5 separate regions of the Homo sapiens genome follow, and all the other regions are linked to region 1. The links are contacts of gene promoters, found by promoter capture Hi-C in human tissues and cell types (Jung and others, 2019). All regions are on one chromosome and are shown on one strand. The core of a region is centred on a gene start or on the middle of the fragment in contact, and the rest is flanking DNA. Distances in the headings are between cores, read along the strand shown.

Region 1 (4,812 bases), core at 853-3,352:
AACCCTATAAATGTACTGAATGTGGAAAGGCTTTTAGTGATAGCTCATCCTGTGCTCAGCATCAAAGACTCCACACTGGCCAAAGGCCCTATCAGTGTTTTGAATGTGGGAAGGCGTTCAGAAGAAAGTTATCCTTAATTTGTCATCAAAGAAGTCATACTGGAGAAGAACCTTAAGAATGTAGTGCATGTGGCCAAGCCTTTAGTTATCACCAATCCCCTACTGTTAATCAGAGATGTCCCACTGGATAAAAAACATATAAATGTAAGAAATGTAGAAAAACCTTCAGCCAGGAGGCTGGCAAGATGGCCGAATAGGAACAGCTCTGATCTGCAGTTCCCAGTGAGATCAACGCAGAAGGTGGGTGCTTTCTGTATTTCCAGCTGAGGTACCTGGCTCATCTCATTGGGACTGGTTAGACAGTGGGTGCAGCCCACGGAGGGTGAGCTGAAGCAGGGTGGGGCGTAACCTCACCTGGGAAGTGCAAGGAGTCGGGGATCTCCCTCCCCTAGCCAAGGGAAGCCATGAGGGACTGTGCCATGAGGAATGGTGCACTCCGGCACAGATACTACGCTTTTCCCATGGTCTTCGCAACCCACAGACCAGGAGATCCCCCTTGGGTGCCTATGCCACCAAGGCCCTGGGTTTCAAGCACAAAACTGGGCGGCCATTCGGGCAGACACCGAGCTAGCTGTAGGAGTTTTTTTGATAGCCCAGTGGCACCTGGAATGCCAGTGAAACAGAACCGCTTACTCCCTTGTTAAGGGGGCTGAAGCCGGGGAGCCAAGTGGTTCCCATGCCCACTGAGCCCAGCAAGCTAAGATCCACTGGCTTGGAATTCTCCCTGCCAGCACAGCAGTCTGAAGTCAACCTGGGATGATCAAGCTTGGTGGGGGGAGGGGCGCCAACCATTACCAAAGCTTGAATAGGTGGTTTTCCCCTCACAGCGTAAACAAAGCCATGGGGAAGTTCCAGCTGAGCAGAGCCCTCCACAGCTCAGCAAAGCCTCTGTAGCCAGACTGCCTCTCTAGATTCCTCCTCTCTGGGCAGCGCATCTTTGAAAAAAGTGCAGATAAAACCCTCATCTCCCTGGGACAAAGCACGTGGGGGAAAGGGGTGGCTGTGGGCACAGCTTCAGCAGACTTAAACATTCCTGCCTGCCAGCTCTGAAGAGAGCAGCAGTTCTTCCAGCACAGCGCTTGAGCTCTGCTAAGGGACAGACTGCCTCCTCAAGTGGGTCCCTGACCCCCATGCCTCCTGACGGGGAGACACCTCCCAGCAGGGGTCCACAGACACCTCATACAGGAGAGCTCTGGCTGGCATCTGGTGGGTGCCCCTCTGGGACAAAGCTTCCAGAGGAAGGAACAGGCAGCAATCTTTGCTGTTCTGCAGCCTCCACCGGTGATACCCAGGCAGATATGGTCTGGAGTGGACCTCCAGCAAACTCCAGCAGACCTGCAGCCGAGGGGCCTCACTGTTAGAAGGAAAACTAACAGGAATATAATCAACATCAACAAAGGACATCCACACAGAAACCCCATCTGAAGGTTACCAGCATCAAAGACCAAAGGTAGATAAATTCACGAAGATGAGGAGAAACCAGTGCAAAAAGCCTGAAAATTCCAAAAACCAGAATGCCTCTTCTCCTCCAAAGGATCACAACTCCTTGCCGGCAAGGGAACAAAACTGGATAGAGAATGAGTTTGACAAATTGACAGAAGTAGGCTTCAGAAGGTGGGAAATAACAAACTCCTCTGAGCTAAAGGAGCATGTTCTAACCCAATGCAAGGAAGCTAAGAACCTTGAAAAAAGGTTAGAGGAATTGCTAACTAGAATAACCAGTTTAGAGAAGAACATAAATGACCTGATGGAGCTGAAAAACACAGCATGAGAACTTCGTGAAGCATACAGAAGAAAAACCTTCAGCCAGATTGAATGCTTTACAGGGAAGAATTCATACTGCAGAGCGGTCTTAACAATGTAAAGAATGTGCAAATGTCCTCAGACAAGATGCACACCTTGCTCATTAGTGAGTTCATTTCAGGCAGCCAGCTCTTCCTCACCCACTACATCACCAAGTCCTGTGGATATATCTGCTAAATATTTTTGGAATTTATCCACTTCTTTTGGTTCCCCAGTCCAAAACACAGTCATTTCACCTGGACTATTTCAATCATTACACAGGTGTCCAACCTTTTGTCTTCCCTGGGCCACATTGGAAGAAGAAAAATTGTCTTGTGCCACACATACAATACACTAACATTAACAATAGCTGATGAGCTAAGAAAAAAAAAAAGTCTGTGCATAGTTTTAGTGATACACCACCTCCGATAAGCAAAAAAGTCCTCACATTCAATGGGTTGCATACCCATGAATTCTAAAACTTCATCCTCTTTTGTCCCTTTCGAGTTAACATTACAGCCACAGTGACCTTTCAAAAATGCAAATTAAGTTACTCTTAAAACTCTAGTTAAAATACTTGATGTACATAAAGTGCTTAGCAAAATGACCAACTCATACTAAGTGCTTAGTAAATGTTAGATAAGTATTCTCCAGAATTGATGTAAATTATTTTTAAACAGTGCATTCTTGAAAGCAGTATGGCAGTCATAAAAATTTTGGAACCAAAACAGTATCTTTTTTTAAGCTAAAAAAAAAGTTTTAAATGGTGTCTTTCTATGTTGCCCAGGGTGGTCTCAAACTCCTGTGCTCAAGTGACCCTCCCACCTCATTCTCAAGTGGCTGCAATTACAGGCAACCAGCCTGACTTAAAACAGTATCTTAAGGTAGATGGTGATTAGCACATGTAGTATGCTTAACATTTAATATTATAATAAGACATCACAGCGGCTGTCTCATGATTAAGGCTGTGTTCCCTTGTTGGTGAGGAAATTAATTATGACTTGATAAATAGAACATGTTTTAAGAAGTGGCTATATAGCTCTGGATAAAACGAACAAAAGAATTAGAATTCCTGCGGGGAATATATACAAGACTTTATTTAGTCAAGTAAAAAAAAATCACTAATGTTTAACTGAAGAAAGAGAAATTGAATAATATAGTTCTATTTCAACATGTGGGTTCACAGATTTATTCTAACCTTCCAAGTAAAGTTGTTCCACTAGTAAAGTTGTTCTGGAGTATATTTTTTTTAAAAAAAACACTTAAAATGTTCCACTTCTTTCATGAGGCTAAGTCAACTCTGATATCAAACCAAGGGGAAAGAAATGAAATTATAGGTGAGTTTACTTAGTTATATACAAAAGGAAATTATTAGCCTCTGCTGATGGAGAACAGAGGCTGTGAATAAATGGAGATCCATAACATGATCCTACATGAATGTTTCAATATTGTAATCCTGTAAGTTACTTTTACATTGACAGTTCTGAAATTCATGTTGAGTGTTAATTAGGCAGGAATCAGAAGGGAGGTTTTGTAGAAGGTCGTATCCATGGGTTTTTTATATTTGAAAAGTGTTTTCGATGTATCATTGGGGGAGATTAAATGTCTTTGACAGTTGTCCAACTAGAAATAAAGTCAGCATCCCATTTGACTCCTTACACAGAAGTTCATTCTATACTCATTACAGATGTAAGAGGTTAAGATGGTAGAGGAGAATGTAGAGTATTTCTGTGCCTTTAGGTTCAGGAGGTCTTTGATAAGCAGGACAAGGTCCAGAAGCCATGAAGAGAGAATGACAGGACTGTGTAGAAGATTTAAACCTTTTTCATGGCGTAAGATACTGTATGCAAAGTTAAAAGGCATATGACAGGCTGAGAGATATCTTAAACATACATTAGAAAGGATATAGCCCTTGAAAAAGGGCTGTTGGAAAGCAGCAAGGATAAGGTGCACAGTCTTGCAGAGCATGTCAACAAAATTTATTGGATGAAGAAATTAAAATGGTTAAATAGAAGAAGTTCTCAACCTCACTAATGATCAGATAAGTGCAGATTGTAAAAGTCCTCATCCCCACCAACACAAACCAGCAGAAATTTTATGTGAATGTGAAGTTTGGATAATATCCAGTATTGTCGCAGGTGTGAGAAACCGTATTTTCAAATATTGAGAGGGTAAATTAGAGGAAAGCCATTTTAGAGGGCAATGTGGTGTTACCTGTCAGCATTTTGAATATAATTACCCTTTGCCACAATTCTACACCTAGTCAGTTATGTTCTCAAAAAGCACAAGTGCAGAAATATAGATGCATAAGCAAATGTGTTGCAGAATTGTGAAAAATTTGGAAAAAATGTTTAGTGCTATTAAAGTTATGGGTTACTTAAGTTACAGAAAATCAGTTTAGTAGATCACTGTGTAGTTACGGAAAATGAGATGGATCTCTACTCAAAGATGTCTTGCAGTTTATGAACTGAGATGTAACTTCATGACTAACATGATGACATCGTTATTAACTACATAAACTTTATAAAGCTTAAAAAATGCATTCATAGTATCTTATTTGTTGTTTTTGTTTACAATACAAATAGAAACCATGCACACAGATACAAGAACTCCTTCCCTGTTGTTTGTTTTTGTTTTGTTTTGTTTTTGGTAGCGGGCGGGGTGAGCTGCTCTCATGTTATTCCATGAGTTTTTTTATGTGTTGCTTGTTGTGCATGGTTCATTTTTTGTTTTTATTTTTTGAGACGGAGTCTCGCTCTGTCACCAGGCTGGAGTGCAGTGGTGCGATCTCGGCTCACTGCAACCTCCACCTCCCGGGTTCAAGCGATTCTCCTGCCTCACCCTCCTGAGTAGCTGGGACTACAGGATAGTCTCGATCTCTTGACTCATGATCTGCCCACCTTGGCCTCC
Region 2 (4,812 bases), core at 1,083-3,582, 1.8 Mb after region 1:
ACACCTGGCTAATTTTTGTATTTGTATTAGAGACAAGGTTTCACCATGTTGGCCAGGGTGGTCTCAAACTCCTGACCTCAGGTGATCCACCCACCTCAGCCTCCCAAAGTGCTGGGATTCACTCACAGGCGTGAGCCACCACACCCAGCCAAAAGACAGAATTTTAACAAATTTGGTTAAAGATCGAATTGGCTTTTATTTGTGATTCATGAATCTGGGCAGCCTCCACTCTGCAAAACGGAATGAGAGCTCCCACGGGGCAAATGGTAGAATAGTGGTTTTTGTAAGATAGAGAAAAGGCTAATTAGTTAACACTAGGTTACTTTTCTTGTAAGGATTAAAGCAGAGGGGACTTCCTTATTATGCTGCTCAGGTAGACTGGAAATCTGGTTTGTTTAGGGATCTACCTGCTTAAAGTATCAGTCTGATTATGTGGCATTTAGCCTAAGTGACTCTGTCTTGGTTTGGTCTGGTCTCATGAGGCCTAGAGCAGGAGCTCAGTCCAAAACCATGTCCTCTCATAATTTTGTGTAACTTGCCTAACACCTGCTCCTTCTCAGGAACGAGGCCCAGCAAAAAGCAGAGACGGTACAGGGCCAGAAGGATCTGAGAGAGTGTGGCCAGCTTGAGCCCTCAGGAGTCGGCCAGAAGGATCTGAGAGAGTGTGGCCAGCTTGAGCCCCTCGGGAGTCAGCTCCTCCGTCCCCACTGGTAACGTCTTCACCCCTTCAACACGGTGTGAAGGGCCATGTCATGGTTGATCTTCAGTCCCTCAGACTACACCATCAGCCCCATGGGGGTGAGCAAATAACAAGTAACTATACTGTTCCCTGCTATGTGTCTGGCTCTTGGTAAAATTTAAAAAAGTTAAAAATTGTTGTGGTTTGAATGCAACATTTTTGAATGGAAATCTGCTTCCCCATTTTTCTTTTTTAATAACTTTTTATTTTTTTTTTGAGACGGAGTCTTGCTCTGTCACCCAGGCTGGAGTGCAGTGGCCTGACCTCGGCTCACGGCAACCTCCGCCTCCCAGGTTCAAGCGATTCTCCTGCCTCAGCCTCCCGAGAAGCTGGGACTACAGGTGCCCGCCACCACGCCGGGCTAATTTTTGTATTTTTAGTAGAGACGGGGTTTCACCATATTGGCCAGGTTGGTCTCGAGCTCCTGACATCGTGATCCACCCGCCTCGACTTCCCAAAGTGCTGGGATTATAGGCGTTAGCCACCGCGCCCGACCTTTAATAAACATTTTAATGGACTACAACAGACCCACAGAAAAAGACACATCACAAAGTGAACACCCACAGGGAGAAGCAATAGGGCTGTCAGAGGCATTCGACCCAGAGCGACTCCATTTTGAGTGAGGGCTAGGAAAATGAGGCTGGGCTGCATTCCCAGAAAAGTAGGTATTCCTAACCTCTAGATGTTTACGGTTAAGGGAACAAATTAATAATGGGTACTAAAACAGACCCAGACTTGGGAGTGTCCAGATATCCCGGTATCTAGAGAACAAAGGCATTCCTAATTTTGCTTTAAAAATAATATCGATTCTTGAAAAATACAGTAAGAAAATTAATCCTTTTTCACAAACCCTTGTAGCAGAGCACATCTCCCCAAAATCTATTTTTAGCCCAAATATACACAAGCATTGTACCTAGGGTGCATACGTTCCTCTTACTTTCAGGAACGTCCTACTGTCTATGGGGTAGCTGTTTCACAACTTTACTTTCTCAACAAACTTGCTTTTACTTTGCACTGCGGACTCGCCCTGAATTTTTTCTTGCGCGAGATCCAAGAACCCTCCCTTGGGGTCTGAATCGGACCCCTTTCCTGTAACACAACCACCGCTCCCAGCCTCCCCGCTTCCAGCCGCTAAGCCCAAAGTCTTTTATATGAACAAACCTCTAACTCGTCCTGTGACTTTGATGCGTGTGCGTTTTAGGCACCGGGGAGCAGAGGGTAAAGCGGCGCAGCTCCGGGCCTCCTCCCGCGCAAGTTCCCGAGAAGAGCAGGTCCGGCCCGCGCAGACGTGCACGGTCCCCAGCCATTAGGAGGAGCAGACGGTCCCCACCCCCACAATCAGTCATCTCTCGGGGTCCGCCCTTGCTTCCTGCCCACGAGTGAGGCCTCTGGTTGCCCGCAACCTAAGGGGCATCGCAGCCCCGAGCAACACCGCCCCCACCAGCCTTAGCTGAGTGCTCCCATTGGCCAGAGGCCAGCGGGTGGGGGCTCCCATTGGCCATCGGCCATAATGCTTCCATTGGTCGAAGGCCAGACCAGCGGAGACTCCCATTGGCCGAGGGCTGTGGTTCGCCGCACGGCCTACTGGGAGTTGTAGTCGCCGCGTCGCCGGTGCGGCCGCCATTGTCCGGCGTTCGGCGAGTCGGGTGGTCCCTTTGGCTGGAGTGCCTCTCTGGTCTGGGGATCACCTCAGGCGCTGTCCTTCACTGGGCGATCCAGCATGGACCCCGAGGACGAAGGGGTAGCGGGAGTGATGTCTGTGGGGCCGCCGGCGGCCCGGCTTCAGGTAACAATAACAACAATAACGACGGCGGCGGGCTCCGGGCAAGCGTCTCCCGCGCAGACTGACCCTTTCACCTCGCGGCGCGATGAGAGCGGCACCGCTGTTAATGCCCTTGACACGTGGGGAAACTCAGACGCGGGTCGGGGCGTGGTGACCGTCCTGGCTGGTCAGAGAGGGGGCCGGGATTCCAACCAGGCGCCTGGCCCCCGAATGCGCATGCTCCACGCGGCTCTGTCCTCCCCAGGGCTGGGGTCGGTCATTCCCGAGAGAATCGAGCAGGCCCATCTCCTGCGTTCTGCTCCGCCCCGCCGACACCCTTGCCCATTCCAGGAAGGTCTGTCCTCGTGTTGACTGATAACAGTAATTGTAGCGTTGGCCGGGTGCCCAGATGGCAAGAATCATCGAATAGAGATGCTTTAACGCGTGGAGTCAGCGGACACCCACCGGGACCCCAGCACCGCGGAGCCCCTGCCCTGGGGCTTGGGCACAACCTCTTGGGGGCAATGATGGGTCACCACGCACTGAGTGTGATGAGAGTGACCACCAGGGTCGTCCCCTGCGAGACTGTGGGAGAACTGCAGTGCAGGGCGGTCAGTGTTTGCAGGGCCATCTGGCCATCAGAGCTCCACTTTCTAGACAAAGTGGTTGCGGCCTGTGTTCTCCATAAAGCTGCCTCGCGTGGCAGGAAACAACAATAATTATCCTTCCTCAAGCTCTGCAACTTTGAAATTATACTTTTTTTTATTTTTTGTCGTTGGTTTGTTCATGGGGATTTGCATTATTTCAGATTTGGTACACAAAGTGAGACTTGATAATCTTAGGTTGCAGGTTTTCAGATGTGTGTTGCTCCAAATTTGCATGAAATGCTACCACGTTTTATTTTGTTCTTGCTGTGGATGGGGGACAAGGAATGAGTCGTAAGAAAGGCTTGAGAGAAAGTGTATTAGTTACCTGTTGCTGTGTAACTCAAAACTTCGTGACCTGGAACAACAATAAATATCTCACGAGTTCTGACAGGAGTAATGGAATGTCCTAGCTGGTGGTTCTGGTTCAGGCCCATGAAGTTACAGTGAAGATGTCAGCATAGCTGTTGTCACCTGAGACCTGAGTCTGGAGGATCCACCTCCAGGATGGCTCACTCACATGTCTGTTGATAGGAGACCTCAGTTGTTCTCCATGTAGGCCTCTCTTTGGAACTGCTAGGGATCCTTGCAACATGGCATCTGGCTTCCCACAGAACAAGTGATCCAGGAGAGGGCAAGGTAGAAACTGTAACACCTTCCATGACCTGGATTCAGAATTCACACTCTTGTCACTTCCACGGTGTCTTACTGGTTACAAAGTCAACCTTGTTGAGTGTTGGAGGGGACCACACCAGGGCTGGAGGTCATTGGCAGAGGTGGTGGGGGAGCATCTTGGAGACTGTCCATCACAGGAGACAAGGACCAGAATGGAGAGCTTCAAGGTCCAGTGTTTTATCTGGTTATCTGTGTCTGCTGTAACAATTCACTACAAATTTTGTGGCTTAAAACATTTGTTCTTAGGTTCTGGAGGTCAGAAGTCTGAAATCGGTTTTCTGGTCTGGAATCAAGGTATGAGCAGAGCTACCCTCCCTACCAAGGTTCTAGGGTAGAATGTTTCCTCGTCTTTTCCAGCTGTGAGAGGTACAGACCTTCTATTCCTTGCCTCATGGCCCTTTGCCTGTCTTCAAAGCCTGCATTGTAGCATGTTGCTTCAGTGATCATATTGCCTTATGTCTTCTATAGTCATAGCTCCCTTTGTCTACCTCTTATAAAGACACTTGTGATTGCATTTAGGGCCCACCTGGATAATCCAGGATAATTTTTCTGTTTGAAAATCCTAATCACATCTGCACAGTTCCTTTTACCATATATAGTAATATTCACAGGTTCTAGGAACTAGGACCTGGATATCCTTGGAGGCCATTATATATCTCAGTCTACCATAGCCAGGCTGAGAGGAGCCATCCAGTATTCAGTGATGAGAAGGAGCCATTCACGTGTTTTAAGCAGGACTGGCATAGGGTTGAAAAAATCCACTTATGCATTAGGGGCTGGTGGGAAGGGAGATACTGGCAGCTCAACTAAGGCAGTGGGAAAAAGAGAGGAGTGGTTAGGCCCAGTGACCAGGTGTTGGCTGATGCTGGGGTGAAAAGAATATGTAAAGGAGAAACATCAGAGCACAGCCCCACCCCTTCAGGCTCCAGAAGTGCAAGACAAGAGGGAAGGCTGCAGGGATCTGATGTAGGGCAGAAAGAACATCATGAGAC
Region 3 (4,812 bases), core at 1,672-4,171, 1.7 Mb after region 1:
GATGGCAGGTGCTACCCCACACCTCTTAGGGATTTACACACTGTATGGTGTAAATACATTACCATCCTACTAAAATCCAAATGATCATGAATTCCAAAATACATCTGGCTCAGAAGGTTTTGAACAAGCAATCGAGGCACTGTCTAAATCCAACAACGATGAATAAATTTTTTCAACATTTTACATGTTTAATAGTTAACATTTCTTCAGAAGTCATTTTTATTTTACAAATTACAATAAACAGCATATTTAATTTGCTAAACAGGAAAAGAGTATGCAGTTATTAAAAGTTGAATTAAAATGGCTCTCATAAATCAATCTTCAATAATATGCTTATATAAAACCATCTTTAGGTTGGGCACAGTGGCTCAAGCCTGTAATCCCAGCACTTTGCGGGGCCGAGGTGGGCGGATCCTCTGAGGTCAGGAGTTCGAGACCAGCCTGGCCAACATGGCAAATCCCCATCTCTACTAAAAATACAAAAATTAGCCGGGCATGGTGGCACGCCCGGCTACTCAGGAGGCTGAGGCAGGGAGAATCACTTGAACCCGGGAGGCAGAGGTTGCAGTTGAGCCGAAATCACGCCATTGCACTCCAGCCTGAGCGAAAGAGCGAGACTCTGTCTCAAAACAAAAAAAAAAAAACAAAACATCTTTGGTCAGGCATGGTGGCTCACGCCTGCAATCCCAGCACTTTGGGAGGCCAAGGCGGGAGGATTGCTTGAGTCCAGGAGTTCAAGACCAGCCCTGACAACACACTGAGACCTCATCTCTACACAAATATTTATTAAAAATTAGCCAGGTGTGGTGATGCACACCAGTAGTCAGTCCTAGCTACTTGGAAAGCTGAGATGGGAGGAACACTTGAGCCCAGGAGGTTGGGCCAGCAGTAAGCCATGACTGCAGCACTGCTCTCCAGCCTGGGCAACAGAACAAGACCCTGTCTCAAAAACAAATTCTTTTAATCAAAAATCAGGTTTTATCCTATACCACATAAATAGAAAGAAATCATTAGAAGAATTTCCACCTGCCTGGGCAACATAGTGAGGTTTCTGTCTCTACAAAAAAGTACAAAAGAGGCCAGGCGGGGTGGCTCATGCCTATAATCTCAGCACTTTGGGAGGCTGAGGTGGGCAGACTGCCTGAGGTCAGGAGTTCGAGACCAGGCTGGCTAACATGGAGAAACCCCGTCTCTACTACAAATACAAAAATTAGCCAGGCATGGTGGCACACACCTGTAGTCCAAGCTACTTGGGCAGCTGAGGCAGGAAAATCGCTTGAACCCAGGAAGCAGAGGTTGCAGTGAGCCGAGATTGTGCCACCTCACTCCAGCCTGGGCGACAGAGCAAGACTCTGTCTCCAAAAAAAAAAAAGCCAGGTGTGGTGGTGTGCACCTGTCCCAGCTATTTGAGAGGCTAAGGTGGGCGGATCACTTGGGCCCAGGAGGTGGAGGCTGCAGTAAGCTGTGATCGCACCAATGCATTCCAGTCGGGGTGACAGAGCAAGACCCTGTCTCAAGAAAAAAAAAAAGAAAGAAAAAAAAGAATTTCCAAGGGGGTTTGCTTCCTTGTGATTATGAAGGGCTAGACGTATCCTATTCAAATCCAGAACAAAACAAGACTATTAGTAAACATGACTACTTAACATAGCTCTGTCATACTAGCTAGGACTATACAATGTTAATTTTTTAAAGTTGAAATATGGAAAAAGAAGATATCAAATTACTTATTAATTGGGGATGGTGTTGTATCTATAATAGACACGAAAAATCCAATGAAATATTATTAGACTATAAGATATCTGCACAGTCTCTGAGTAAATACTCCTATGCCAAAATCAACACACTAACAGCAACAATTAAACAATGTGTAGCCTGAGGTTGGATCCTCCACAGTGACCAAAAAAACCAACAACCCGTGGAACAAGTTTAGCAGGCAGTGTACACGACCACCAGAGGGAGGCAGAGGGCTGCTGAGACCTGCCAGGAAATATCAAGAAAGAGGACACAGGGTCCTGAGCACTGAGAGAGATCATTAGGGCCCTCAGGTCCCAAGAAGACAAGACCATACTGGGACCTGGGACCTAAGGAAGATAAGAAAACACCAGATGTCGGTCCTTGAGGAAGCCAAGAGAATACCTCCTTGTCCTGAGCTCCCAAGGAAGATGAGAGCACCCTGGGCCCAAGGATGGGTGGCACACACCAGGTCCTGGACAGCTACAGACTTAGGTTTCCTCTCCCTAGACATGAGCACCTCAGCTTCCAGGAGCAAACTGGACCACAGGGGGACACTAGGCAGAGGATCCTGCTCCTCCTCCCCAATGCCTGGGGTACAGTTAGCCCTGATCATCTCTCCAGAACTAGGGTAGACGTTTGGCCTCATTCCCATCACACTTGTGGTCCACCTAGTCTTCCCTCCTTCCCCTTGCACACCCCTGACCTTCCTACTCCCTTCCTCTAATCCCCAGAACTAGGGTGGACGTTTGGCCACGTTCCCATCACACTTCCGGTCCTCCGAGTTTCCCTCCCCTCCCTGACCTTGAGTGGACACTTGGCCCTGTCCACCCTCACTTTCAGGCAGGACCCATCTCCCAGAAACATAAGTGCCGTCAGTCCCAACTCCTGCACACTTCCGGCTCTCCCAGTCCTCCCCTTCTTTCTCGACTTTGAAACTGGTGGAACTTCAGTACCTCTCCCCACTCCCCCCGCGACTTCCGTCTTCCAGTCCCCCTCCTTCCCCAAAAGTTGCGTGGACTCTAGCCCCGCCTCCTACATTCTCCCCGCCCTCCCTGTCCCCGCCCCTCCACCCAGATGGACGGCCAGTTAGGCCCGCCCCCTGCACTTCCGGCCCTACCCGCCCTTCCTCTTCCCAAGGGACGTCATAATTAATCCCGCCCCCACCGCCACCCAACCAAGCATCACCCATTCCAGCACTTCCGGCCTGACCCCTGTCCAGCGCCTTTCCTTTCTCCAGCTTCTGCTCTGCCCCAAGAGTGGTCGCCTTCGTGGCAGGGCACGACTCTCTCCCAGCTCGGGTCGCCGCCCACATTAGTGTGGGGCCCTGCGGCCTAGCGTCCCTCACCAGAGGCCTCCCCTTGCCTAGCTGGACCGCCGAGGGACATCGACGAGTATCCTCCTCCTGCTGTCCCCGGCTTCGCCTGCCGCCCCTAACCGGCCAGTCAAGATGGCCGCCGCTGGGTGAGGCAAGCTGGCGCGCCGCGGGGGCGTCTGGGAGTTGTAGTTCGGGACGGCGGGCTGACGCACTTCGCCGCCGGCCGACGGGCGCCATTGTGCGGCGCGCGCCGGGTGAGTGCCGCGCGAAACCTGCGTCCGTCGGGGGCTGCGCTGGGCGGGTCCAGAACCGTTAGTTGGGGGCGAGCGCGGCCTCTGCATTTTCCGCCGAGCTCGGGTACCCTGAGCCGGCCGTGCCTGCAGTCCTCCCGCCGCTCTGTGGGATGGGGTCGGTGACCCGGAACCCCGAGGGGAGACAGTGCTTTCGGGGCGCCGCGGTGGAGAGAACAGATCGCCTCCGGAAGCGTGGGGTCTGGGCCAGGGAGGCGATCCCCTCCGATGCGCGGGACAGAGGAGGCTCGGTGTCCTCTCGGGGAGGGGAAAACTGGTCCTATCCAGTCCTGTGGGAGTCCTATGACTCACTCTGGGCGTTTTCCAGTTTGGGTGGACTTGTCATTTCCCGCTGAGGGAGCCGTTCCTGGGCGGAGGCTGCGGTAGCTCCCCAGCGGACACCTTAAGCCTCTCCCTCCCCTCCCAACTTCGGTTTCCTCAGGACTCTGCCCACTTCCACCAGAGACACATTGAGAAGGAGGAAACTATGGCCTCCAGGCTTCCGACGGCCTGGTCCTGTGTGAGTAGAGGCTTCCTTCAGCTTTTGAGTCCGCTACTGCACCTGGGAGGATGCGGATGGTGGTGAGATACCACCTTCCCTGAGATACCCCCATCCTCCAGAGCACCTCGGGGAGGGGGTAGAGATTGGTTGGGCATGAGAGATCCTGCGTGATGGTGGAACCGCAGGTTGCTTGGTTTTCCAAGGGTGTAGTTAGAATAGAGACCAGATTGTAGGGGCTTCTGAAGGCCAGGTTAAGGCTCTTGCTTGTATCCTTTATATTGGGAAGAGTAATTGACAGGTCTTTTGTTTGTTTGTTTTTTGTTTTTTGAGATGGAGTCTCCCTCTGTCGCCCAGGCTGGAGTGCAGTGGCGCGATCTTGGCTCACTGCAACCTCCGCCTCCTGGGTTCAAGTGATTCTCCTGCCTCAGCCTCCCCGAGTAGCTGGGACTACAGGCGTGTGCCACCATACCCAGCTAATTTTTTTTTTATTTTTATTTTTTGTGTGTGTTTTTTGTGGAGACGGGGTTTCACCATGTTGGCCAGGCTGGTCTGGAACTCTTGACCTAAGGTGATCCGACCATCTCGGCCTCCCAAAGGTCTATGCAGGGATCAGGCTTATGTTTAGATTTCAGCAGATAAATTGGCATCAAGCAAGAGGTGACAGCAGCAGAGTTCAATAACAAGTAGAAAAGACAGGTGAGGATGGATCCCTGACAGGTGAAGGAGATAGAAAGAAGCATCAGGGCCCTGGGTAGGGGCTGACGGCTTGGGTGTGATGGTGCAGCTCAGAGAATTCCCTAGGAGGCATACGCACCACTCCCAAAGTCAGAATTTTCAAATGAATAAGAAATAGGGGGCCGGGCGCGGTGGCTCACGTCTGTAATCCCAGCACTTTGGGAGGCCGAGGCAGGTGGATCACGAGGTCAGGAGATTGAGACCATCCTGGCTAACATAGTGAAACCCCGTCTCTA
Region 4 (4,812 bases), core at 1,669-4,168, 1.4 Mb after region 1:
GCCTTCTTGCATGGCTCCACATCCCCACAGAACCAGGTGGGGCTTTAGATATCCATGGCCCTATTCCACTTCTGTGTTGCACTTGGTGACCCCTCTACAATGACGACTTTCCTCTGTCCACCTAGAGTCATTTAAATCCCACTCCCTTGTTATGGAGAATGGTCTAAGAAAAGTGGAAAACAAAAGAAAAAAATAAATAAAATCCCAGCCCATCAGCTGTCCACCCCAGGCCCAATGTCTGTCACAGATAACCAAATTTACCCTGAGCATGTATCCACCAGGCCGAATGAAAACCCCCAAGCACCAACAAAGTTTTCTCAAAATCTTGGTGAGTCCACAGAGTGGTGAATAAGTACCAGCCTTGGCCCAAGTGTCATCTTCCTTCAATTATTTCTATGCTTCTGCTTACATCTCTTATCTATTCTACCCTTGGAAAGCCTATGCCCCCTGACAAACCATGTTGTCTGACATACCCTATCTTCATGAGCCCTTGCCTCCTTCTCCTGTGGCAATGTCAGCCAGGGACCCAAGCAAGAAATTCAGCCCTCAGCCTGCAACCACCCCTTCCTGGCCCCCACAAAAGATTTACCATGAAAATTTGAAGTGTGTCAATGTCATAATGGAGGCTAAACTATCTCAGACTCTTAACATGGTCAAAACAACATTCTTCACATCCCCAATGAATATTATACCTACTATGTGCTCATCTCAGTTGATGCAGCTTCCATCACTGCAGATGCTAAGACCAAAAACCTGGTGGTCATACCTGATTCCCCTTTCATGCCCTCACAGTCTATTAGAAAATCTAGTTACCGACCGGGCTTGGTGGCTCACGCCTGTAATCCCAGCACTTTGGGAGGCCGAGACGGGTAGATCACGAGGTCAGGAGATCAAGACCATCTGGCTAACACGGTGAAACCCCATCTCTACTAAAAATATTAAAAATTAGCCGGGCATGGCCGGGCTTGGTGGCTCATGCCTGTAATCCCAGCACTTTGGGAGGCCGAGGCCGATGGATCACGAGGTCAGGAGATTGAGACTATCCTGGCTAACACAGTGAAACCGTCTCTACTAAAAAATCCAAAAAATTAGCTGAGCATGGTGACGGGCGCCTGTAGTCCCAGCTACTCGGGAGGTTGAGGCAGGAGAATGGCGTGAACCCGGGAGGCAGAGCTTGCAATGAGCCAAGATCGTGCCACTGCACTCCAGCCTGGGCGATAGAGCGAGACTCCCGCTCAAAAAAAAAAGGAAAATCTAGTTGCCATTTTACAAACTGTGAATCTTGAATCCAGCCACAGCTCCTTACTCATTAATATGGTCCAGTAACCCTCACCTGCATTATGGCAGGAGTTTAAACTCTGATCCTCCTTCCTCCTCCCTCAAACACAGTGTGTTCTCTTCTTTGCAGCCAGATGATGCCTGCAGACAAATGGGACTGTGGTAACATCACCTCCTCGCCGCCCTCTTGCCTCCCCACCGAATTTTTACCTCTAAGCATTTCATGACCTGGTACCAACTCTGTAGTTAACCTTCAAAGTATGTTTACATGGGTTGACAGAAATGGGAATACCTCCATACATCCTGTGTCATGGACTTAGGATTCTGGGTTTAGGGTTTCTCCAGTGTTCTCAGATCAAAGGACTGAAAAAATGGCAAGTAAGAGTCCCAGGACATCACAAGCTAGAGAACATGTGAATGGGGAATAAGGCCAGTGAGGGAATGGAACACCCTCTAATTCCCTCTGTGGGTTCCTTTTTTTGAGCCAGAGTTTCGCTCTTGTTGCCCAGGCCGGAGTGCAATGGCTCACCGCAACCTCTGCCTCCCGAGTTCAAGCAATTCTCCTGCCTTAGCCTCTGAGTAGCTGGGATTACAGTCATGCGGCATCACCACGCCTGGCTAATTTTGTATTTTTGTTAGAGACGGGGTTTCTCCATGTTGGTCAGGCTGGTCTCGAACTCCCGACCTCAGGTGATCCGCCCGCCTCGGCCTCCCAAAGTGCTGGGATTACAGGTGGGAGCCACCTTGCCCGACCCCCTCAGTGGGTTCTTTACGTGCTTTTGTAGCCAGGAGTGTCTGAGGGGAAAGCAGACGTTACAAAGGGGATCTGATAAGCTCAGGTCTCCTTGAACCTTTTCTTATCGCTGGAGCCAGGTGACCTCAGACTGGTTGACCTGCGTGTCTCAGTGCAAAATGTCATCTCTACCACCTATGTGATCTATCAACAAAGGAGTCAACCTCCCAGAACCCTAAGGTCCTCATCTCCTCTACTATGTTCTTCCTTTGGCCTTTGGGAAACCTTAAAAGCCTGGACTTGGATCGCATCCCTCCTTTCTTCGAAACTCTCCATGGCTTCTAGCGTCTTCACAGCGAATACACAGCCCCCAGCCTGCTCTTCCAGGAGAAGCTTCGCCTCACACGTTGTTCCCTACAGGCGCCTGTGGACCCCAGGTTCCATCCTCCCGGGTCTGTCCTCCAGGCCATAGCCCGCGCCGGTCCCTGTGCCTGTCGCTCTCCCCACCGCATCCCACAGGTGTCAGAAACAAGGACCTCTCCCGCGAACGCCTCAGTGTCCCGACGCCGGGTCCGGGCTGCAGACCTGTGAACAGTCGCCGCTCTCTCGCTGCTTCAGGATTCGGGTTAGGATGAGGTGACCTGAGGGCAGGGAAGGCACAATTACCTGAGCCGGGAGCCTCAGCGCGGCCGCCGCCATCCCGAGTACGCGGGGAAAGCACTGCCGGGAGCGGCGGGCGCCGTTACGGGGCCTAAGATCTGCCTCTGTGCAGCAAGAAGGACTCTTCACCTTCTGGGTTCAGACACCGCGGTTCGGACCCATAGCTCCAGCGCCTCTCACCTCACAAACCGCAGAAACACACCCAACATTAACCAAAATGGTCGCTACCAGAGAACGCTGAGAATCCCGCCACTACGTTACGTGCGCACACAGAAACGCCTTTATTCTGAGCCCTTACTGGTTCTGTTGCGCTGTCATTCAATGTAGAGCTTTCTGGGTAATGTAGTTCCCCAGGTTCCAAGGTAGTAAAGCTGCCGCTTCCCAAAGGCGCTTCTGCAGGGAAGTCCCAGCCCTACCTCAGGGGGTTCATTAAAGCGCGTACCCTTTTAGGGCAGAGGATGGTCTCGCCCCTCCTTAGAGGCCATATTGAGATTCCTGGGGAATCCCTGTTTGTAACTGACCACCTAAGTGTTTGCAAAAATATTAATTCACATTTCTGTAAATTCAAGCTCCCAGGCGCTAAAAATACTGTGAAGGCCCCCAAAGGCTACAAATCCAAATTCGTGTATCACTTTATACAATCGTTTAGACACAGAATGCTTGCACTGGAAGCAGAGGCTGATAAACATTACTCTGTTATAATTCACATGAATGCACTCTTGTTACCGGATAGAATGTCTTGGCTGTGAGTTGTCCAGTTGTTGGCGCATTGAACAAAGAAGTGAACAAAACACACAAAAAAAGCAACGAAAGAACGGACCAATGAAAGCGCAGATTTATTGAGGGGAAAGTACACTCCACAGAAGTGGAATGTAGGTGTGGGAGCAGGCGACCAAGCGGCTCAAGAACCCCGATTACAATGTTTTTTAGGGTTTTATTAGGTTGGTGCAAAAGTAATTGCGGTTTTTGCCATGAATAAGCTAGAATTTTATAATACCCCAAGAGTTCTTTAAAGGCCTCCAATCCTATGAAGGACTGGTGCACAACCAATCAGAGGCTGAAGTGGAGACTTCTGTCTTGTTACCACAGGAGTGAGGACGTGGCCTGTGTGCTGCCTCATCTTGCCTAGAACTAGCTGCACCTGCTGTTCTTTTGCTTATGCCTTCATTCTTGGTTACCCTAATTCCCTATTCTCCTGCCTCACTCTGAGGCATTAGAGTTGGTTTTTCAGTCTGCCAGGGACAAAAGAGAACTAATCCAGATAGGACCATGCCAAGGAAGATAGAGGAGAGGCTAAAGAAAGAGTACAAAGGTCAATCAGTCGTTCCCATGGAAAAACAACTCTCCTGCTTATATAGTCAATTATTGTGTCCAATTCATTCAGCAAAACATTTATTCATGTAATATCCCTTACTTGGTATTCTAACTTATATTTTCAACTCATTTTAGGAACTTGAAGTCAGTCTCAGGTAAAGAACAATGAAAGAGAAATCTCAGCTTGGTATTGGTAATGGTGGTGATAATCTCCACCTGGAGACACTAGGCGTATGTTAAATTATCGAGCTTGTTATCTTTCCTGGGAAGTGATTATCATTTGTTTCTCTTGTGACAGCGGGGAGTGTTCTGCATGAGGAACTAATATGATACCAGAAAAACAGGTGAAATGCCAGTTACAGAAACTTATTACCAACGACTATCTAATAACTGCGATGACAGAAATAGGTCAATTGAAACATGAGTGGATGGTGAAAAAAATTTACACTTCACAGAAGTTTTTCTTTCTTTTTTTTTTTTTTTTTTTTTGAGACAAAGTCTCGTTCTGTCCCAGACTGGAGTGCAGTGGCGCCATCTTGGCTCACTGCAACCTCCACCTCCCGGGTTCAAGCGATTCTCCTGCCTCAGTCTCCCAAGTAGCTGGGATAACAGATGCCTGCCACCACGCCCAGCTAATTTTTGTATTTTTAGTAGAGACAAGGTTTCACCATGTTGGCCAGACTGGTCTCAAACTCTTGACCTCTGACCTGCCTGCCTCCTTCTCCCACAATGCTGACATTACAGGCATAAGTCACTGCTCCCAGCTGACTTTACAGGTGTTTGTTTGTTTGTTTGTTTGTTTTGAGAAGGAGTTTCACTCTTGTTGT
Region 5 (4,812 bases), core at 1,732-4,231, 1.2 Mb after region 1:
AGCCTCCCGAGTAGCCGGGACTACAGGCGCCCACCACCATGCCCGGCTAATTTTTTGTATTTTCAGTAGAGACAAGGTTTCACCATGTTAGCCAGGATGGTCTTGATCTCCTGACCTCGTGATCCACCCGCCTCGGCCTCCCAAAGTGCTGGGATTACAGGTGTGAGCCACTGCGCCTGGCCGACTTTAGGCATTTGACACAGATCTCTAACTAACTTAATGCAGGCAGCAGGAGATAAATACCCATGCTCAGCTGCATCATGAAAACGGAAGAAACTGGAACACATTCAACACCCTCAACACATTCCAGCTACATCAAAAGAGTCTGGTTCCTACCTTCTGGCCTTAGGATAATGACAGAATGTAGTACATCCTAAGTTCCAGAGAGTTACCAAAAACAGAGACAGCATTCTGGACAAACACAAAGATTAGAGAAGCACCTTAAATCTTTGGCCAGATGGATTCGTGAGATCCTTCTACTACACTAGGCAAGACTGGGAGAAGTAGTGAACTTTTTTTTTTTTTTGAAATGGGGTCTCAGCCAAGCATGATGACTCACACCTGTAATCCCAGCACTTTGGGAGGCCGAGGCGGGTGGATCTCCTGAGGGCAGGAGTTCGAGACCAGCCTGGCCAACATCGTGAAACCCCGTCTCTACCAAAAATACAAACAAATTAGCTGGGCGTGGTGGCGGGTGCCTGTAATTCCAGCTACTCAGGAGGCAGACAAGAGAATTGCTTGAACCCAGAAGGCAGAGGTTGCGGTGAGCCGAGATTGTGCCACTGCACTCCAGCCTAGGAAACGTGGTGAAACCCCGTCTCTACTAAAAATGGAAAAATTAGCGGGGTGTGGTGGTGGGCACCTGTAATCCCAGCTACTCGGGAGGCTGAGGTAGGAGAACTGCTTGAACCCAGGAGACAGGTTGCAGTGAGCCGAGATCGCGCCACTGCACTCCAGCCTGGGTGACAAGAGCAAGACTCCATCTCAAAAAAACAAAACAAAACAAAACCTGGCCAAGGCATGGTGGCTCACTCTTGTAATCCCAGCACTTTGGGAGGCCGAAGGGAGTGGATCAACTGAGGTCACGAGTTTGAGACCAGCCTGGCCAACATGGTGAAACTCTATCTAATAAAATACAAAAATTAGCTGGGCATGGTGATGCATGCCTGTAATCCCAGCTACTGGGAAAACTGAGGCAGGAGAATCACTTGAATCTGGGAGGCAGAAGCTGCAGTGAGCCAAGATCGCACCATTGCACTCCAGCCTGGGTGACAGAGCGAGACTCGTCTCCAAAAAAAAAATAAATAAATAAAATAAAACCAAAGCCAAGTGCAGTGGCTCACAACTGTAATCCAAACACTTTGGAAGGCTGGGGCCGGTGGATCAGTTGAGGTCGGGAGTTCAAGACCACCTGGGCCAACACGGTGAACGTCCCCCCCACTCCCCCGCCCCCACCCCACCCCTCCCACCTCCCCACCCCACCCCACCCCTCCCACCTCCCCACCCCCGTCTCTACTATAAATACTAAAATTAGCCAGGGGTGGTTGTGGGCACCTGTAATCTCAACTACTTGGGAGGCTGAGGCGGGAGAATCTCTTGAACCCGGGAGGTAGAGGTTGCAATAAGCCACTGCATCCCACCCTGGGCGACAGAGTGAGACTTCGTCTCAAAAAAAATAAAAAAAATAAATAAACTAAAACTAAAAGAAAACACACAAAATGAGGGTGAGATAATCAGATAGTAGCAATAGCACACCACCCATCGTTGCCATCCCAGGCCAAACTCCTCATACCCTACAGCTCTCTCCTCCTGCAAACACTGAAAAGAACCCTTTCAAATGGCAGGACCCTTCTCTTCTGGGGGGAGTCTCAAGAATGCCCACTCCCTCTTCCCTGCCCTGCAGTCCCAGCCTTCTCATCTCTTACCCCAGAGATATGAAATAACATACTTAAGACTGCCCCACTTAAATCTGACCTCCTGGCCTTGACCTACTCCAGACCGCTCCCTTCACCCCAAAGATATTCTAAGCCCAGCCCCTTCCCCACAACTTCAGACCTTCCTCTCTAGTTGCCTAAGTGAGGAAGCCTCCACTCTGAGACATCTCAAAGTCACCATTCCAAAATCCAAACGTTCATGGAAAAACAACAAAAACACCTTGCTCTTTCATGCCTTACTTTCAGTCATAGCTGCATATGATGGAGCAGAAAATCCTGTTGGTTTCAAATTTAAAACCTACCCAGAATATGATCACTTCTACCCACTCACCTGCCATTACTCTTGGTACATCCACCACCAAAGCATTCCTGGAATCCACTGCAGTAGCCTCCTTACCGGTCTCCTCGTATCCATCCTCGCAGTCCCCACCCCAAACTAATGTTCTCCCCTGAGCAAATTTCGAGACACTTAAAATCCCAGCTAAGATCACGTCCTTCTATTCAAAACCCTCAGTTAATCTCAACGCCCTCAGAATGAAGCGACAACTTCTCAGCCTGCCATTCCAGTCACAGTTCCTCAAACTCTGCTCTGTGTTGATGAGAACCCTGTCTCCCAAATGTTTGGGGGTCAGCAGCACCCCCGAGCCTTTACCTGCGCCGTCCCCTCCGCCCGTAACTCTCCCACACCCACCCACACCGAGATAGGACCCCGCCCCAAGAGTGCGTCGCTGTCCTGGGACACAGGGGCTGCAGGCACTTTACGATTCGGAGTCGGAGAAAGGGTGACTGAGGGCCCGGAGGACGCAGCACCCACCCGCGCGGAGTCCGTTAGCTCCGCCATAGGACCGTGGGCGCGGACAGCTGCCGGGAGCGGCAGGCGTCTCGATCGGGGACGCAGGCACTTCCGTCCCTGCAGAGCATCAGACGCGTCTCGGGACACTGGGGACAACATCTCCTCCGCGCTTTCCCAACACCTCCACCTGCGGCCCACACAAGCGTTACAGAACCCCGGCCAGGGACAGCCTGACAGAAACAAAATGTCCGCTACAAGGAGGAGCCGGAAGTCCCGCCCACGCACCCCCCGCAGGCACTGAAACACCCCTCTCCTGGGCCCTCATTGGGTATGCAACGTATAGGTTTGTGGGTAGAGTGTGGTTCCCACTGAGCTATCCTTCAAGGCAGGGGATTCTCGGCCTGGGCTCTTGGGAAAACTCGAAGTAGGAGGGCCAAGTTGTTTGGGAAAAGTAACCCGAGTTTCAAAGGGCTGACAGGACTTCCGTCCTCTTTTTTTTTTTTTTTTTTTTTTTTGAGACAGAGTCTCGCTCTGTCTCCCAGGCTGCAGTGCAGTGGCGCGATCTCGGCTGACTGCAACCTCCGCCTCCCGGGTTCAAGCGATTCTCCTGCCTCAGCCTCCCAAGTAATTGGGACTACAGGGGCCCGCCACCACGCCAGGCTAATTTTAGTACTTTTAGCAGAGTACGGGATTTCACCATGTTGGCCAGGCTGGTCTCGAACTCCTGACTTTGTGATTTGCCTGCTTCGGCCTCCCAAAGTGCTGGGATTACAGGAGTGAGCCATGGTGCCCGGCTGACTTCTGTCCTCTTAAAAGGCCTGGACCTAGATTCCCTGGAGTGTAGTATGCACCGATCGCAGAAATGTTGAGACATTTCAGATGTTCCCCAAAGCTGCAAAACTAAATAGATACACCACACCACAATGTCTCTTTGCGTACACTCACAGCTAGAAGCTAATAACTATTACCTTGTTGCTTTTTAAATATGTGTGCACTCAAGCTTTACAGTAACTTTTGTGAGCTTCAGTTTGGTCAGAGACGGAAGAGAAAATATTCCAAACAAGGCCTTGGAGTGGAAGAAGGAAGAGGGATGATGTGGAGTCTCCCTGAAACCAGTGGACAGATTTCTTCAGAAAACTCTTCCTGCCTGGGTAATCAGTGATGTCTCCATCACAGCAAAACACAGTGCAATTACCATTTAACCTGTCATTGTCATTGTAAGTATGGTGTCTGTGTTAGGAGGTGAGATTATCCCCGGGGGAAAAATCCTGACAGCTATTAATAATGATTCCGTAGTTATTTGAAGATAATGAAAGAAATTGCTCTAAGGAAATATCTGTGATAGATGGACAAAGTTAAGATCTCAGTAAAGTTTGAGCCTGAATACTAAAGTATAAGTGAAAGAATGAAGTTAAGCATATGGTTGTGTTGTGATCTTGACCACACTTTGTCAACAAAATGTGACTCTTTTTTCCTGAAAATGCTGAGCAATTGTAAAGAAGATATCAGAATGGTAAAAATCAACAGTGAAGTTGTGCTGTCTTGATAATTCACTGTTAAAATACACATCCAAGGAACACATACGAGCTCTCAGTAGGTGTTTTTCAAATGTGTTAGTAGCATGAAAGACATCACTAATAAAATTTCCAAGATTCCTATACATACAGGACATGTCCTGCATATAATGATTTTTGTCCTGCATCACCTTTTGACTTTGTCACAATACCCTAAATAAATATTCTAAAGAAGGCAACAGTCTTAAAGAAAAGAATTTTCAACCCGGAATTTCATATCCAGCCAAACTAAGCTTCATAAGTGAAGGAGAAATAAAATACTTTACAGACAAGCAAATGCTGAGAGATTTTGTCACCACCAGGCCTGCCCTAAAAGAGCTCCTGAAGGAAGCACTAAACATGGAAAGGAACAACTGGTACCAGCCACTGCAAAAACATGCCAAATTGTAAAGACCATCAAGGCTAGGAAGAAACTGCATCAACTAATGAGCAAAATAACCAGCTAACATCATAATGACAGGATCAAATTCACACATAACAATACTAACCTTAAATGTAAATGGGCTCAATG

The links. The method cuts DNA at HindIII sites, captures the fragments that hold promoters and counts their contacts. A contact is called where the count stands out against the background at its distance.
Region 2: the fragment with the promoter of ZNF8 here is called in contact with a fragment that was not itself captured in region 1 in 1 of the 25 tissues and cell types used here (dorsolateral prefrontal cortex).
Region 3: the fragment with the promoter of ZNF274 here is called in contact with a fragment that was not itself captured in region 1 in 1 of the 25 tissues and cell types used here (dorsolateral prefrontal cortex).
Region 4: the fragment with the promoter of ZNF418 here is called in contact with a fragment that was not itself captured in region 1 in 3 of the 25 tissues and cell types used here (dorsolateral prefrontal cortex, hippocampus and lymphoblastoid cells).
Region 5: a contact is called between the fragment with the promoter of ZNF671 here and a fragment that was not itself captured in region 1, in 1 of the 25 tissues and cell types used here (dorsolateral prefrontal cortex).

What each region holds. Positions count from the first base shown.
Region 1 is chr19:56,525,773-56,530,584 of GRCh38, forward strand. It overlaps ZNF471 (zinc finger protein 471), which reads left to right. Exons shown (of 5, transcript NM_020813.4): 5 at 1-4,440. The coding sequence ends at 176. Among named protein-coding and RNA genes, the nearest start is that of ZFP28-DT, 11 kb to the right of the region's middle. RefSeq lists an enhancer at 1-1,075. The HindIII fragment of the contact is 5,520 bases long and covers 1-4,812 here.
Region 2 is chr19:58,276,623-58,281,434 of GRCh38, forward strand. ZNF8 (zinc finger protein 8) reads left to right here and starts at 2,333. Exons shown (of 4, transcript NM_021089.3): 1 at 2,333-2,525. The coding sequence starts at 2,460. ZNF8-DT (ZNF8 divergent transcript) reads right to left here and starts at 2,120. Exons shown (of 3, transcript NR_187495.1): 1 at 1,901-2,120. It overlaps ZNF8-ERVK3-1 (ZNF8-ERVK3-1 readthrough (NMD candidate)), which reads left to right and starts at 2,344. Exons shown (of 7, transcript NR_144447.1): 1 at 2,344-3,987. It also overlaps a transcript of ZNF544 not described here. RefSeq lists enhancers at 2,409-2,458, 2,879-2,928. The HindIII fragment of the contact is 27,521 bases long and covers 1-4,812 here.
Region 3 is chr19:58,180,140-58,184,951 of GRCh38, forward strand. It overlaps ZNF274 (zinc finger protein 274), which reads left to right and starts at 2,922. Exons shown (of 8, transcript NM_133502.3): 1 at 2,922-3,303; 2 at 3,782-3,859. The coding sequence starts at 3,827. RefSeq lists enhancers at 2,533-3,246, 2,915-3,334, 3,247-3,958, 3,585-3,774. The HindIII fragment of the contact is 17,090 bases long and covers 1-4,812 here.
Region 4 is chr19:57,932,484-57,937,295 of GRCh38, forward strand. It overlaps ZNF418 (zinc finger protein 418), which reads right to left and starts at 2,919. Exons shown (of 6, transcript NM_133460.3): 1 at 2,678-2,919; 2 at 1,334-1,419. The coding sequence starts at 1,339. RefSeq lists enhancers at 2,322-3,204, 2,797-2,886. The HindIII fragment of the contact is 9,006 bases long and covers 1-4,812 here.
Region 5 is chr19:57,724,643-57,729,454 of GRCh38, forward strand. It overlaps ZNF671 (zinc finger protein 671), which reads right to left and starts at 2,982. Exons shown (of 4, transcript NM_024833.3): 1 at 2,749-2,982. The coding sequence starts at 2,886. RefSeq lists enhancers at 2,681-3,181, 2,699-3,138, 3,279-3,328 and a silencer at 3,135-3,360. The HindIII fragment of the contact is 7,784 bases long and covers 1-4,130 here.